Linked DNA regions of Homo sapiens: region 2 is linked to region 1. Evidence: promoter capture Hi-C in 16 types of primary human blood cells and fetal thymus (Javierre and others, 2016). All regions are on one chromosome and are shown on one strand. Each heading gives the region's core, a stretch centred on a gene start or on the middle of the fragment in contact. The rest is flanking DNA. Distances are from core to core; before and after follow the strand shown. Region 1 holds the start of REEP4 (receptor accessory protein 4). Region 2 overlaps XPO7 (exportin 7).

What was found. The method cuts DNA at HindIII sites, captures the fragments that hold promoters and counts their contacts. A CHiCAGO score of 5 or more calls a contact.
Region 2: a contact is called between a fragment that was not itself captured here and the fragment with the promoter of REEP4 in region 1, in 1 of 17 cell types (naive B cells). The highest score is 5.1, in naive B cells.

Annotation. Positions count from the first base shown.
Region 1 is chr8:22,140,211-22,143,709 of GRCh38, reverse strand. It overlaps REEP4 (receptor accessory protein 4), which reads left to right and starts at 1,803. Exons shown (of 8, transcript NM_025232.4): 1 at 1,803-2,259; 2 at 3,013-3,085; 3 at 3,462-3,499. The coding sequence starts at 2,228. RefSeq lists silencers at 1,760-1,889, 1,900-2,049 and enhancers at 2,814-3,421, 3,422-3,499. The HindIII fragment of the contact is 1,867 bases long and covers 1,420-3,286 here.
Region 2 is chr8:21,935,041-21,938,539 of GRCh38, reverse strand. All of the region lies in intron 1 of XPO7 (exportin 7), which reads right to left. Among named protein-coding and RNA genes, the nearest start is that of XPO7, 17 kb to the right of the region's middle. The HindIII fragment of the contact is 2,469 bases long and covers 605-3,073 here.

The DNA of each region.
Region 1 (3,499 bases), core at 554-3,053:
ACATCTCTTCTCTGAGATTTCCCAAGCACAGGCATTGGGACCAGGAGTCTCCATACGGGAGACCATCCCAGCTGAATGAGCTTTGGGCGGGCCCAGGTAATGTTTCCCAGCAAATGGGGGTAGACAGAGGCCTGTGATGCTGAGGTCAGGTGCGTGGCCCCAGAAGGCAGCCAGCAGGGAAGGGACAGTTCTGCAGCACGCACCAAAGGACCCGAGGCTCACGTGTGCAGTGACCTCCTGAGTCATGGATGTCCCTTTCAGCTGCTCCCCTATTCAGTCACAGCTTTCCTCCTTCAGGGAGACCCAGGACACTTTTCACCTAGAGAACCATGTCTGTGCCTAAAGATGGACAGTGGCTGGGGCCTTCCTTAGGAGTTCCTCTAGCCCTTGGCCTTTTTGGTTACTCCAATGTGTGTGTGTAAGGGGGGACAGGTAAATGTGAGGGTTGGTTAAGAGAGGAGAGGGAGACATGGGGCCTCGGGGAAGTTTCTCCTGTGGGCTGGTTTCACTGCTGGCTCTCACACCCAGCAATACCAATAAAACTGATGACAGTAATTAAGACCATATAATCACCGTGTGTTTATTTATCCCCCAGAAGCCTCCTTTCCCTGGCCCCATGATTACCTATTCCATCCTTATGATAGCTGGTGGGGGTTAACTGTGGCTCCAATAAAAAGCAGTAACTGCCTGTGTTTCCACCCCACATGCCCGGACAGCTTTGCTCCCACCCTCTGCAAGGTGGGGGGACACTATTTTCAGAGGGAACAACAGAGGCAGTAAGCTGAAGATGTCAAAAAGAATGAAACCTCACAGGGCAAGTAGTAGAAGCAGCAACGTTTGCCTTCTTTTTTAGAGCCTTCCCCCTTCTTCCTGGCATCTGCCTCCCTCCCAGAGGAACTTATCCGGTTCCATGGCCCTCTGCAGGGCCACTCAGCCTGCAGCTGCTGATCTCTCAGAAGACTGATCAAGCCAAGCATGTAGCCACCAGCCAGCAATAAATACCACTGGGTGATACCAGGAAAGTTACTTTTCACCACTGAGCATCCTATTTCCTACATGGTTAAAAGAAGTTTGCAAAGACTAAGACCTTGCGTGCAAACGTGCATTACAAAATGGCAATGGTTGATACTACTATTAAGGGCCCAGGGTTATTTGTGTACTTGGCTCAGAGGAATAGGTGGAATTTCAAACTTCTGCTGAAGGAGTGTGGGAGCTGAGAGCTCTACCCAGAATGCCTCAAATCATCGCGGTCAGCCTGCCCCGGAGTCAGGGATCTGGAAAGGCATCCCAGAGAGAAGGGAACCCCTGAAACCTGGTGGGGCAAAAAGTCCCTCAGGTTCCCTCTCCCCCCACACCTCCCCCCTTTCCCTCCTGGACCCACTGGTGTGAGACCCGGACTTGCTGGCGCTCAGCCAAGCTTCCTTCCAGCTCCTGACTGAGCCTGCAGAGGAGATCCTTCCCTCTACCCCACCAACCGCATCTCATGCCTTTACCCGGTTCACAGAGGGGAAAATGAGGCGAGAGGGAAAGACACCGGGAAAAGCCAGTGAAGGGTCGCTTAAACTCTGGAGTCCAGATTTTCTTTGTGTGCCGACCCCCGCACTCCCCCTGCTTTTTTGTTACAGCTTCCCACACGCTAATCTTTCCGATTGGGAAGGTGGCTCCACTGTGGGCCCCACGCGCGAGTCCCGCGGCACATCGCCCCTTTAAGGGGCCGGCCTCTCGCCTCCCTGACCTCGCCCCGCCCCCTCCGGGGCTACACTGCGCCTGCGTGGCAAGCCGGAGCCCTGGGGTTGGGCAGCACTCGGTTCCGTGCAACTTTCAAGTGAGTTGCGAACTCCGCCCTGTAGGCCGGTGCTGGTGGCCCGGCGCGCTGGAACCGCGGCGACCCGCTCCAGCGCGGGACCAGCAGCAAGGGCCGAGCGCCAGGTTCTCCGCGGCAGAAAGGGCGGGTGGGAGCTGTAACTGCCCCGGCCGCGGGGCGCGCCCGCTCCCAAGTCGGCTTCCTCCCCGCCGGGGCCGCTTTGCCTCGGGTCTCCCCATTCTCCAGGTCCCCTGAACTGCACAGTCGGAGGCCGTGGGCGGCGGGCTCTGCCTCCGCCGAGGGACAGCCGGATCGCCCCTCTGCTTCCCGCAACTGCCCTGATCACCCCCCGTCCCAGCCCTTGAGTGAACGTCCTTCTGAGCGGCTTCCTGGGGTCCTCCCCACGTCCCAAAGGCCGGCAAGATGGTGTCCTGGATGATCTGTCGCCTGGTGGTGTGAGTATGGCCGCCCTCAGACCTCCTCTACCCCGGGGTGCCGTCCCGCCCCTGTGGTGGAAGCTGTGGACGTCTAGTGGGAGGAGGAACTTTCTGAGCTCCACCCTCCAGCACTCCATGCAAGGGTTAACGGACCTGTGGGCTTGCACGCGGTGTCTGGGGCACCGCAGGCTACCCGCCCCACCAAGCCTCGTTGGCTGAGAACGACCCCTGCCGCACGCCACACACACTGCAAACAGATGCGTGGAGCCGAGGGCCACAGGCCTACCTTGCTGCCCCTTGGCAAACACAAGGTGATATGGCACGTTGTGGGCGGAGAATCCAGGTGCCTGCTTGCCATCTGAGCAGTCACATGACTCACCATCCTATTCCTCACCTTTGAGTATGCCAACATCTGGCTCACATAGCCCTATCTGCAACCCAGCAGTGTCAGGTCTGGTGACCCTGGGCCTGATTGCATGCCCATGGGAGGGGACAGTCTGGTGTTCTCACCCACTTCGTGGAGTGGCTGTCCTCTCACTCCATCATGCACCCATGGGCCACCGGTGCAGGCCTGGGCAGGCTTGGGATGTTTGTAAACAGCAGGGTGGGGAGGTGGCCTCCAGGGCTCTGACTCAGGCACGGGTTGTACAAGCCAAGCGAGAAAAACAGGGCGGGTACTGCCACCTTGCACCCCAGTGGGGGGAAATGGCCACTTGGCAAGGTGGGAGTGGGGCATGGTGCCCCTCACACTCCCCATGGCTGCTCTTCCAGGCTGGTGTTTGGGATGCTGTGTCCAGCTTATGCTTCCTATAAGGCTGTGAAGACCAAGAACATTCGTGAATATGTGAGCGTGGGGGTTTGGGTGTGTTTAATAGGACTTGGTGAGGTGGGGAGGGTCTCAGTTGGCCTCTCCCTCCTCCAGGGGCAAGGCTGTGTGGCACATCCTGAGTGGAGTGGGGAGGGAGAGAGAATGGGCCCTGTTCAAGAGGGTGTAGATAGAGGGCAGGCCATCGGGGTGCCTGTGGAAGATCTGGTGGGTGAAGCTTGTTGGAGGCGGGCATAGGAATGAGCAGCAGTTTCTCAGAGCTCCTGTCCAGCCATGTGTGGGGGAAAGCAGCTATGCAGCCGGACAGGCTCCCTGGAATCTCTGGGCTGGGCTGGCCTGGGTTGGGAGTTGGTGCTGCAGGCCCCATGCTGACCTCTGGGCGCTCACCCCACAGGTGCGGTGGATGATGTACTGGATTGTTTTTGCACTCTT
Region 2 (3,499 bases), core at 590-3,089, 210 kb after region 1:
GTGAGTTTCTCAGTGCCTTGAATGCAGAAAAATGGTGAGAAAATTGAGTCATCACATGGCATACCAGCAGTCCTGATATAATGAACTAAAAAAGAACTTACAGTGACTACTTATCGGGTATAGGGTTTCTTTTTGGAGTGATGAAAATGTTGTGAATTACACAGATAGTGCTAATGGATGTACAATATTGTTAATGTACTGGAAGCCAATGAATTCCATAACTTTCAAATTTTAAGTTTTATGTTATGTAAATGTTAACAAAAATATAAAAGAAAAGAAAGTATGGTATACCAGTCAGTATTACAGACATTATCATCTAACATATTAAATATATGTTGCTAATTTGAATGTAACTGGTTCTGTGGTTTGTTTTAAATCTGTAAATCTGTTTATAGTTGCACAAGAAGACAACCCTGAGGAATTTACATCTATTTTTACTATTGTTAATATCTGTTACATTAAAATCAAAATAATTTAAATCAATACCAGAGGGCTTGTGAGACACCAACAGCTATTTAAAAGGGGGTTATATATGCAGAAAGTTTGAAAAAAAATTGATATGAAAGGCTCATAAATATTATCTATATCTTATTTCTCTGAAGCTTTAGTAATAAAAGTTTAATGAAAGTGGGAGTTTAATGCAAAATTTGTATCTACTTTATAAATTACTCCAAAACCTTTGAAGATTCTCATTTACGTAACATTCCTACTTGCAAAAACTGATGATCAATTTGAACATAATATCTGCTTAACAAATATATATTCCTTTTATAAAAGAGGAACAAAGATACCAAGAATCGGGTACTGATTTCCTTGTTGGTCCAGGGTACTTTAATTTCTGCTTGATCCTCTACAATTAAACAGGGTTACCAATAAATAACTTCTGATGATTTCAGTGAACCTTTTAATAATTGATGAACTAACTCCAAAAAGAAATACCTTCCCTGGGTTGACAAATGGCAGCTGTTGTAGATGGGGACACTGCAGTGACAGAAGCAGTGATGGGAACAGAGGGAAACAGCCATGAGCTACTTCAGAATCCTAGGAAACTAGACAAGCACAGTCGGAAAAGTACACTAAACTCAGCTCCTGTGGAGTCTGCCAGCAAAACATCAATTAAAAGTCCTTCCTATTACATGCGTACTAAGAGGTTTAATCTTCTTGGTAACTATTACCGTAAGACATTAAAAGTGCTTCAGCCTGAAACATAACAGATCAAGATGTTTTAAAAAGCAAACAGTTTAATGACTGAACTCAACTGTGTTTTGGAAATACATTTAACACATCCAAATAAGACTGATTCATTTATTCGACTAATATGAATTTGTGTATGCTCTATGGTGGTCATATCTACCATTGATTATATAAATTACTCGTTAATCTAAACACTTTCTAGCCATGCCAAAAATTCCACAAGATAAGCAGTTTTGAAACTTTTAACCTCTTATTGTGCTATGCATTAAAAATAAGGTATAATTTTGGAACTAACAGATTAGTCAAAGTCTGAGTCCGTTAAGAGTGATCTAAAGGTTGATGGCAGAGTGAGTTTTTATCTTGCTAAGGCCAGTATGTAACACCAAGGCACTCAGGCCAGTACTGCGTCGCCTAGTTAACCACTCAACAATGCTTCCCCCTCAACTCTCATTTCACCCGCAAAACCACCCTATATGAAGTAAATATTATTCCTCTTTTTCAAATGAAAAAAGAAGAGAAAAACCCCCAGAAAATTCTACCTATAAAGGAGTGAGTGTTTCACACTGGCCACTAATAGGATTACATGATAAAAAAATTCCAGTTTGGGAACTGCCCAGTTAACCAAAGTAAAATCATTTTTAAACAGAAGAACTCCTAAGAGTCTTTAGTATGCTAATATACACCAAAAATGTCTAAGAGAAAGATACAATACATAGTTTCCAACTTTTAAGATCAAATAATCCTTATTGTGGGCAACAGGTGATAGACCAATGAGCCAAAAAAATACTTAGGAAATTCTGCTTTTGTGGCTTCACGAAATTTGAAGAGTCATCAAAATTGGGAGATTAATCTTTTGAGACTATCTTTAGAGTATGTATCATTTAATACATATAGTAACATTGGTGAAAATAAGCATCAAACATTCTTCACAGGGCAGAAATCTAGTGACATGGATACTGGGCAAGACTGCAGACTATGAGATTCAAATTACATCTATGAAACAAAAGGGCAAAAATTGTTCTGTTGATTGACTGCATCTTCTGGACACAGAGACAGAGGCCATGGTAGAAGGAATAATTATCAGTGATCCACAAATGGCTGCTAATCGGAATGACTTGAGGGTGCTGATCTTAAAAAAAATTAACATGCCACAATGAAACCCTGATTCAGTAGGTTCAAGAGTGGTCCCAGGCAATTTTAGCAGAGGTAGGGTTAGCAGACATTAAAAGACTGGAAACTAAAGGAATTTACACTTAGCAAATTGTCTGATAGGTGGTAAGAGCTCAATAAATACTGTTGTTATTTTATGCCCAGTCGATCTTTCCTGTAGCAATTGGGGCAAAAAAGGGTTCTACAAGGTTGTTTTGGAGAGAAATACTCCACAAAAAGGTTTTGAGAAAAGAAAACCCCAAGGGACAGAATAGTGGCAACTACCAAAAAATGAGGAAAGCTGATTGAGTTTGTGGGATTTGCAGACGAGACAGAGAGAGAGAGATTGAGAGAGAGAGAAAGATATCTTGCCCATACCACCCCTCACGTGGACTCTGCATGGGCATGAGAAGGGCCATGGATTTAATTAGTAGGAAGCCCAACACCATTTTATATATAAGAAAACTAAAGCTCTTAAGGTTATTTAACCTTCTACTACACTACTACACCACTACTAAATGGATTAAAATTTAGATCTTGCTTCAAAATTCAATGCTTCCTCCAAATTCGGTCTAATAAAACAAATTCGTCTTAAAGTCCTATCTATGAGAAAAAAGCAAAAGGTCAAGCTAGTCAGTGAAAACTAATGCACACACCAAATATATGAGTTAAGACTATCTGTATTTAATGGAAAGGAGGGAGTACTGGAAAGATACCTGAACATCAAGCTTAAAACTAGAATTTTAATCCTGACTCTCACTATTTGTAGGACTTTAGGCAAAATGTCCAAATTAATTTCCAATTAGTTTGTTCACCTGAAAGAAGCCTGCACCTTGATATAAAAATAAAAAGAAATAATGCATTTGAAAACTCTGTGTAAACTTGGTTGAGACTTTTGGTTCCAGCAATATGGCAAACTAGTTAGCATGGAAACTTCCTGCCACAAACATCTACAGCTGCTATTTAAATATAAAAGTCCTTTTAGATGCCTGGCTGTACTAATCATAGAGTAGTCAAAATCAATTAGGGCCCAAACCTAATAGAACTAAAACCCAGAGCAGTAAGCATGAAAGCTCCTTTGTGACTGTCCTGATGCAAATGGGAAGTGTGGTTTTTGGTCTTGGTAATGCCTACATACAATGCAAATGTCCTTACT